Regions from separate parts of the Homo sapiens genome. Here all the other regions are linked to region 2. The links are contacts of gene promoters, found by promoter capture Hi-C in blood cells and fetal thymus (Javierre and others, 2016). All regions are on one chromosome and are shown on one strand. Each heading gives the region's core, a stretch centred on a gene start or on the middle of the fragment in contact. The rest is flanking DNA. Distances are from core to core; before and after follow the strand shown.

Region 1 (2,700 bases), core at 26-2,525, 260 kb before region 2:
ATCCTGGACTGGAATCTGAAGGGGGCCCCTCAGTTGAAGGCAGCTCAAGTCTGGCCTTTATTGAGGTCTGGGACTGCAGAGAGCTCTGGGGAGTGGCCCTGTAATCAGCCAGCCACCAACCCCACACTGCCTTGTAATAAAGCAGCACTATATTTGTTCTGTTTATAGTCTTCTCTGTAATAATGTCACAGCCCTCACTTCTCTCTCTCTTTGGGGAGATTTTCTGGGTAATAGAAAATTTTAAAATGTTAAAGAGTGTTGTAGACTCCGAAAATGTTTTTATCTAGGATGTGTCTTAAGTTGGGAAGATGCCCAGGAAATGCAGGCAGCTGGTAGCCTTAAGAAGGAGTGTGCTGTGGTGAGTGTGTTGTATGTGTGTGCACTGTGGCTGTGAGGACCATGTGTGAGGAGGGGCGGTGTGGGAGAAGGTGTGGGTGTGTGTCATGTGGTTGGAGTAGGTGTGGGGTGCACTCCTCTCGTGGTGGTGGTGGTGAGTAGAGAGTGTGGTTGGAGTGGGTGTATGAGAGGTGTGCAGAAGGGGCCAGTGCAGTAATGGAAAACCCTGTTTGGGCAAATTTCAAAACGGTCAGATATGCTGGATGGTGAGAACTCAAATTTAGCTCCAGAATGGAACCTTTTAAAGCTTACATTCCACTCATTCTTTCAACTGATGCCCGCTTTCCTCTGCTTCCCAGCCTTTTCAGGCCTAGGCTCCACAGTTTTGCTGATATCAATTCTTTATTCCTCTTCCCTACTCCTCCCAGTTCCTCACCTCTTTCTTTGTTAACCAGGAAGAAGTCAGAGACGGACTGTTGTAGAGGGAGTGAACAGTAAGCCATGCTGATCTAGGTTGATGACAGCTGGCCTGATGTCCCAGGCTGAAGTCTTTGAGGTTTACCCAGGGTGGCGAATGCTGGGGGCTGCCATTGCTAGGGTTATTGCTAACAATTTCGATTCCTCCTATTTCCTTCTCCCTCTCTCTACCTCTGCCCCCACCGCCAGGATTCTATAAATACTTTATTATATGGCACTAATAAAACTTCAAGTATTTCTTTTTATTAGAGCTACATAATATGGTAATTGTGTGACAGAACACAGCGCCTGAGAGTAGCCCCCACCCTCTTCCTAGGTGTGGCCTCTCACCACCTCAGCTTGGGCTAGGCCTACAGGCCTCTCTGTTCCTCTTGAGTGTGGGTAAAGGGGGTCGGATCAGCTTTTCAGGCAGAGCTAAGGGGTGAAGGCCTTTGAGTAGGATCAGGCTAGAGGAGTAAAGACGCACTTTTCTAGTTTTAAATGTAGTCTGTCTTGGTGGATGAGTACAGCAGGAATCTTATTAGCATTAATTCCAGCCACTGCATGGGGTTACTTAACCTGCCTTTCCTTTTAATAGTTCTGTCATGTGACATAGAAGTAGATTTTGAACTTAGACCCAGGGCTAGGCGTACATGGGTTTCTTTGGTTAACTTTGATTCACAGTACTTTTTGTTTTGTTGTTTTTGTTTGTTTTTAATAATGATCATCATTCTTTCTGATGTTTCCTGGGTTGAGGATCTGTAGGTGGAAAAAGATTCTGACTCCTTCTGTCTCTCACTGCATCAGTCGTAGAATAGCTTTCCGCTTAAGTCTCAGTCATTGTTTTCTGTGTCCACTAGTCTCATGGGAGGGTATGGGGCTGGAAACTCCAGTCTATAGAACTTTACTTACTGTTAATGTGTGATCTACAAAATATGTCTTTGTTGCCTAATTGAGCCTTGTAATTTGATTCTGGTTTTTGTCCTATGTGATCTGACTGTCAACCTTTCCTACCCCTCTACTGTAGCTATTGAACTAGGTCAGTGTATCCCTACCAGTGTTTTTCTGAATTGAGTATGATTTAGCCTCTACATCCTAACTTCTCCAAAGCTTGAGAATTGGGGATTCCTGCCTGGGTAGCTACTAACAGAGCCCCCCAGTGCCAGGGACGTAGGACACAATGTTTAGTTCTTTCTTAACTGCCTGTGTGCCCAGTGTTTGCATAGGGGCCAAGCTCCAAACTGGCCTCCGCTATCCACTCTTTACTCCCCATGGGGATGTATGGGCATATGCGCTTTCTACTTTTTGGGCCTAGCCAAGGTTAATATTAGACCTTCTAGCTGGGCTGCTGTTCCCGAAAGCCACAGGGTGTTGTTAATATTCATGTGACCGCAGAGGCTCATCAATATTCATGAGGTATCTGCAGTCTTCCTTCAGGCCCTTAGTTTGGAGAAAACAGGAATGATTAGAGTTTCTAGAACTTAAAACTAACCCTATTTCCTGGAGTCTATTGAGGAGGAGGCAAATCTTAAGAGTAAATGTCTGGGCCAGGAGAAAAAGCATTTTTCATGCCAATATCCTAAACTGGTCTGACAACTTAGTGGAGTTGTGCTGAATGGCTGTTATTAATGTTATCATCCTTATCCAGCATTTATTGAATACCACTGGGTTTAGGTTCTTGTACCAGTACTATGGGGGATAGGAAACTAACATATTTAAGTACTTACTGTGCCAAGGGTACAGAGATAACTAACATGATTCCTGCCCCCAAGAAGCATATGGCTCAGAAAATGAGATAGATAGGTGTACACACACTTATCTTACCAAAGTAAGAGTGCTGTAATAAAGACAAACATGAAGTGCTCAGTGAGGACAGATGAGGAAGTCATTCCCTGGTGGGGAAATTAG
Region 2 (2,700 bases), core at 40-2,539:
CAATATGCAAATAGACACGACCCTGCCTTCTTAGGATTGGCTAACCCGTCAGCGTTATTGTCCAAGTCTCTCCTCTCTAAACACTGAGCTATTCCGGGCGAGGGTTTGCGGCTCTGGAGACCTAGGGGGAAAAAAGTCCTTTGGATCTGGATCTCTGAGCCGTCCCGGTCGGGCACCCTCCTTCCCCGCCCCGGCCCCACCCCCACCCCCAAGGCTCGAAGCTCCCGCAACCTTCGCTGCCTAGGTGTCCCTTCTAGCTAGGGCCAAGCCTGGGAAGACGCCCCCTTCCCTTGGCTGGCCAGGCCCCTCTCCCTTCCCGCAGGACCCCTCCCGGTCCCGTATCTCCCGGGCTGCACATATTTTTTCATTCATGACCCCCAGGTCTGGAAGGGCCGGGCGCCTGGGTCCGGTTCCTTCCGCTCCTCCTTTTCCTTGCTTGGGGAGGACGAGGTAGAGAAAACCAGGGTCCTGACTCACTTTCCCCTTTATATTCCCTCTGTCGTCACTAAGGCCCACTCCTCAGGAGCCCAGAGAGAAGCCGGTGGGTTGGTAGGCAAAGCAGGGCGGGGAAGGGGCAGCTGTGTGGCCCTCTCTGCCTTGTGGCTTCCCACCTTGTTCCTGTCTTCTCCAAATCCAGCCCCATACCCTGAATCCAGGGCCCTCCTCACACATTCTTTTCCTCGGATATGTGTCTTCCCGAAAGATCTTTCCTACCCACTCGCCTGTTCCTTGGTGAGCTGGGTGAGCGCATAACTTGGCGGGGGGTGGGAGAGAACCCGGGAGGAGGAAACACAATAGAATGTTCCCGAGGGTTAGGAACGTCGAAGTGGAGTTCAGAAACGCCCCCGGCCGAGGCCAGAAAGCTGGGCTCGGAGAGCAGGTAGAGCCGGGAGGCTGCGGAACACCCCAGTCTGTCCTGGGTCCCGGGGTCCCCACCCTCCAGGGTCCAGAGCCGCGCCAGGACAGCCGGACTCACCACCACAGTCCGCCGACGTGCGCCGGGCACAGGAGCAGCAGCAGCAGCAGCCCGAGGCGGGAGGGTAAGGGCGGCAGCATCGTGACCGCCCTACGGCCGCCCGGGTGGGCAGGGGGCGAGGCTGCGGGGCGAACCGCGGCGCGCGAGGGCCCGGGCTTCAGTGCGAGCGCGGCGAGCGCAACGGCGGCGGCCGGGAGGCGAGGGATCCGGCGGCGGCGGGGGGGCCCATCCCGGGCGAGGAGGGCGCGGCGGAGGCGGAGAGCGGACGGGGCAGCCAGCGCCTGTGTCTCCTGCGGAGCTCGCTCGGGAGAAGAAATCAGAGCCGGGGGCGGAGGTGGGAGGGGAGCGGGGCCGAGGCGGGGGCGGGGGGCAGGGGGCCGGAGGGAGGTGGCAGTTGCGACAGTCAGGCAGCGGGACTCTCGGGAGCGAGCCGTGCGCCCCGGGGCGGCTGGCGCGGAGCGCAGCGGAGGGCGGGAGCGGGGTGCCGGGGCGGGGCCCCAGCGCGCTTCGGGCTGTGGGACCCGCCCGCTTCGCCCCCTCGCCTCGCCTCTCTCGGACTTGGAGCCCCCCGCCGCTCGCGGCCGCCTGGAGTCGGGGGCAAGGAAGGGCTGGGAAGAAGAGTAGAGAGGGGTGAGGGGGGAGAAAGAGGAGCTGAGGAATGGGGGACGGGCTGGAAGGGAGACGTTTGACAGGTTTGTTGACTGTAAAGAGAGAAAACTTCCCAGGAATGAGGGAGTTTGGGGCGGGGGGCGGTGCGGAGGGAGATGCTGGCGCGGAGGCAAGAGAGGAAGTTGGCCTGGGGCGCGGGGTGCTTCGGCGAGGGTTGTCAAACTGGACCGCCCGACAGGCGGATGCTGGAGGGGTCATCTCTTTCCGTGTCCCTGTTCGATGCCTCATGCCCCTTCGTCAGCCTCTCCTTGAAGAAGGGAGGAAGCCCTGGGCCTCCGCTCTCGCTCCCCCAGCCATCCCACCTCTCAAGCCCGCGTTCTAGGGCGGGGAGGTGGGGGAAATGAGAGGGCAAGAGTAGCCGCTCCAGGGCGTGCGCGCAAGCGCTGGCACTTGTAAGCGAGCGGGAGAATGGAGGTCGCAGACTTTCAAGAGATCGAGGGGTCAGAATTCGCTTTAGCCCGGCCTCGCGTGTCCAAGAGTCCCTGCCTCGAGTTCCTCCCCCAACCTGGCCCGGGTAGAAGGGGTGGGAGAGCCAGCTGCAGGTGAGATGGCGTTTATCAGATTTTCTAATGCCACAAAAATGTCTTTGATGCCCCTGGCCCCCTCCCCACGAGGGGGAGATCAAAGGCTCCGTGGGGAAGAGGGACAGCTCCATTCATCATGCCATTCGGCTGGCAGTGGGCAGCAGCCCCTGCCCCTCCCGTCCCCGACGTGCCCCGGGGTGCCAAGGGACAGGTGGTGTGGGACATTCTCCCTGCCATACCATCAAGAGCAACCATCAACCTTTAAAGCTGTCCTGGAGTGGGGAGGACAGATCGAGTCCCTATGGCAGAAACGTCAGGCGCCCAGAAGAAAGCTCCTGGTTGTTGGTAGAGAGGGGGACCTGAATGTGGGGACTGAGGTCGCTTCCAAGAGAGTGATGACTGAGGTCACTTCCAAACAACCTTGGTGAGCAGAGAGAGAAGACAAGATCCTGAGTCACCCAGAGAGGGGGGACAAGTAGATCAAGATGAGGCCAAGGGGCCAAGGGATGTGACCCCAGGGGAGGAGGCTGA
Region 3 (2,700 bases), core at 18-2,517, 280 kb before region 2:
GGTAGGTGCTCAGTCCAGGTACTGAAGCAATTGTAAGTCTGAAGAAGAAGGAAAACTTGTATTGCTAAGTCCTGAAAGAGAAAAGGTTTCAAGTCTTTTTGTTGTTGTTGTTGTTGTTGTTGTTGTTTTTGAAACGAAGCCTCACTTGCTCTGTCACCCAGACTGGAGTGCCATGGCACAATCTTGGCTCACTGCAACATCCCTTTCCCAGGTTCAAGCAATTCTCCTGCCTCAGCCTTCCAAGTAGCTGGGATTACAGGTGCGCACCACCACACCCAGCTAATTTTTGTATTTTTAGTAGAAACGGGGTTTCGCCATGTTGATCAGGCTGGTCTTGAACTCCTGGCCTCAAGTGATCCACCCTCCTTGACCTCCCAAAGTACTGGGATTATAGATGTGAGCCACCATGCCTAGCCTAGAAAAGGTTTCAAGTTTTTATGGGTAAAGAGAGACCGTTAAACCTAAACTTGTGACTAAGAGAGATTTCTTAGGCCGTTTTTCTCTTAGATAGCTTCCCCTGTCTATAAGTTTAGGTATCAAGGCTGGGGATAACATGCTGGTTCCCTGCCTCATCCCCTTAGTTAAACAATGCAAGGCTTGTTCTTAGCTCAGTAGAGAGGTCTCTTCCTGATCTAGTGCCTGCATACCTCTCCAGCTTGACTTCTTGACATTTTTCTCTGTGTACTTTATGCCTTAGCTATATGGAATGACTTTTAATTTGCCCCAATGCTGTTTCATCTTGTCTTTAGATACACATTCTTCCCATGATCTAGAATGTCCAATGTTCTGGCCTTATCTAACTTGCAAACTTCTATTAATCTTCTAGATGTCAGCTTCACCTTGTTTGGGAGACCGTTCTGTACTCTGCTTGTAAAGACTATTCTTCTTCCCTGCTACTATAGTACCTTGGATTATACCTCTGTTTTACCACTTATAACATTGTAATATTACTGTTTGTATGCCTGCAAGACTATGGCTTTCTCCTCCACTGATCTGTGGACTCTTTGAGGCAAGGACCATGCTGAATGCATTTCTATATCCCCAGCACTGTGCGTGGTGCCTACAGGTAGTAAGTCTTCAATAAGTTTGGATTAATATTTTGATAAGTCTATGCTAGGGGGATTTTATACAGATTATGACACTGTGGCCTGTGGATACAGTGTTGCTTTTTTTTGGCTGGAGTGCAGTGGGGTGATCTCGGCTCACTGTAATCTCTGCCTCCCGGGTTCAAGAGATTCTTGTGCCTCAGCCTCCTGAGTAGCTGGGATTACAGGTATGCACCACCACACCTGGCTAATTTTTGTAGTTTTAGTAGAGACAGGGTTTTACCATGTTGGCCAGGCTGGTTTTGAATGCCTGGCCTCATGTGGTCCGCCCACCTTGGCCTTTCAAAGTGCTGAGATTACAGGCGTGAGCCACTGCACCTGGCTCAGTGTTGCTTATTAGACCTATATTTGGGGTCTTCAGTTATTCTCATGGCTCATTTTGCAGCTTTGGATAAATCACTTCTCATTTATAAAATTAGAGGCTCATCGTTTTCATACTATGGGGTTGGGAGGAGCCCTGCGGAATTGAATGAGAAAGCATACAGAATTTAGGTGGCAGCACAGGAAGAGTATCAGTGTTTTGGAACCAGCTACTTCAAGAATACTGGTCCTGTAGGTTCTGGGTGGATCAACCTCATAGACTTGTAGAATTTTATTATATCTGGAAAGGAAGTGAGAGATAGGTAGTTGTAGTTACAGCTTTCTATTTTATAGATGAAGAAGTTGAGCCTCAGAGAGGTTAAGTGACTTGCCTAAGGTCATATAGCTGTAGCTTTATGTTTAGGACTTCTCACATTTCTTGACACATAGTCTAGGATTATCCCTGTTTTGTTTTGCTAGTTTAACTGGTTGTACACACCTGTTAGGGGAGACATAAGGGCTGGGGTAATATGGAATTCTTGTGACCTCTGGGGTCATTGCACTGTCCTCAGAATGTCCTGTATAGCTGCTGGAACTGAAAGGTTTCCTACTGGGGCTGTAGAACTTCTTATGACTACTGCATCTTTTTAGTTACTCTGCTTGCCCGGGGTCCTACAAACAGGACACAGAAGGGTCATGGGGTCACCCAAGACTGAACTGAAAGGATGTGCCATCAAAATAAGCAAGATGGAATAGGAAGATAAACAAACCAGGGAGAGAGCTCAAGATGAAGGCGCAGGGGGGCCAGGGCTGGTGTCAGAGGGCCATGCGGTCATTGCCTGGGGTCAGTTTTTAAAATTCTCATTGGGATTATTACTAGGCAAGAGGCTATAGACAATAAGGCACAGGGGACAGTAGGCCAGGCAGGTGGCTAGGATACTAAGGCTCGGGAAAATAAGAATTGAACAGGGGTTACTTCTCCCTATTTGGTCCTTTTGTTTTTCCACTCTGTCTAAGAGCCTCTGATTTCTCAATTCTGGGGAACCCAAGGAGCCAGTTGATAGTGGCCTAACTAGAGGGTGATACTGACAATATTGACTCAAGTCAAGCCTGGGTGGGATGCCTGTTGGCATGATCTTCATGGAGGCCAAGAACCCTATATAGGGCATTTTGTAGGACTGGGGGTTGAGAGGCATCTTTAGGAGTGAAAGAAGAGTCAGGGACTTAGGGACTGTTGTTACACGGCAGTAGGAACTATATGAAAAAGGAAGTTTAGGATGACTGGGCAGAGCCC

What was found. The method cuts DNA at HindIII sites, captures the fragments that hold promoters and counts their contacts. A CHiCAGO score of 5 or more calls a contact.
Region 1: a contact is called between a fragment that was not itself captured here and the fragment with the promoter of WNT6 in region 2, in 1 of 17 cell types (M2 macrophages). The highest score is 5.4, in M2 macrophages.
Region 3: a contact is called between a fragment that was not itself captured here and the fragment with the promoter of WNT6 in region 2, in 1 of 17 cell types (M0 macrophages). The highest score is 6.2, in M0 macrophages.

What each region holds. Positions count from the first base shown.
Region 1 is chr2:219,122,269-219,124,968 of GRCh38, reverse strand. The region is part of intron 5 of NHEJ1 (non-homologous end joining factor 1); the gene reads left to right. Among named protein-coding and RNA genes, the nearest start is that of NHEJ1, 37 kb to the left of the region's middle. The HindIII fragment of the contact is 1,259 bases long and covers 646-1,904 here.
Region 2 is chr2:218,858,394-218,861,093 of GRCh38, reverse strand. It overlaps WNT6 (Wnt family member 6), which reads right to left and starts at 1,289. Exons shown (of 4, transcript NM_006522.4): 1 at 977-1,289. The coding sequence starts at 1,056. The HindIII fragment of the contact is 26,174 bases long and covers 1-2,700 here.
Region 3 is chr2:219,142,649-219,145,348 of GRCh38, reverse strand. All of the region lies in intron 5 of NHEJ1 (non-homologous end joining factor 1), which reads left to right. Among named protein-coding and RNA genes, the nearest start is that of NHEJ1, 17 kb to the left of the region's middle. The HindIII fragment of the contact is 4,364 bases long and covers 1-2,700 here.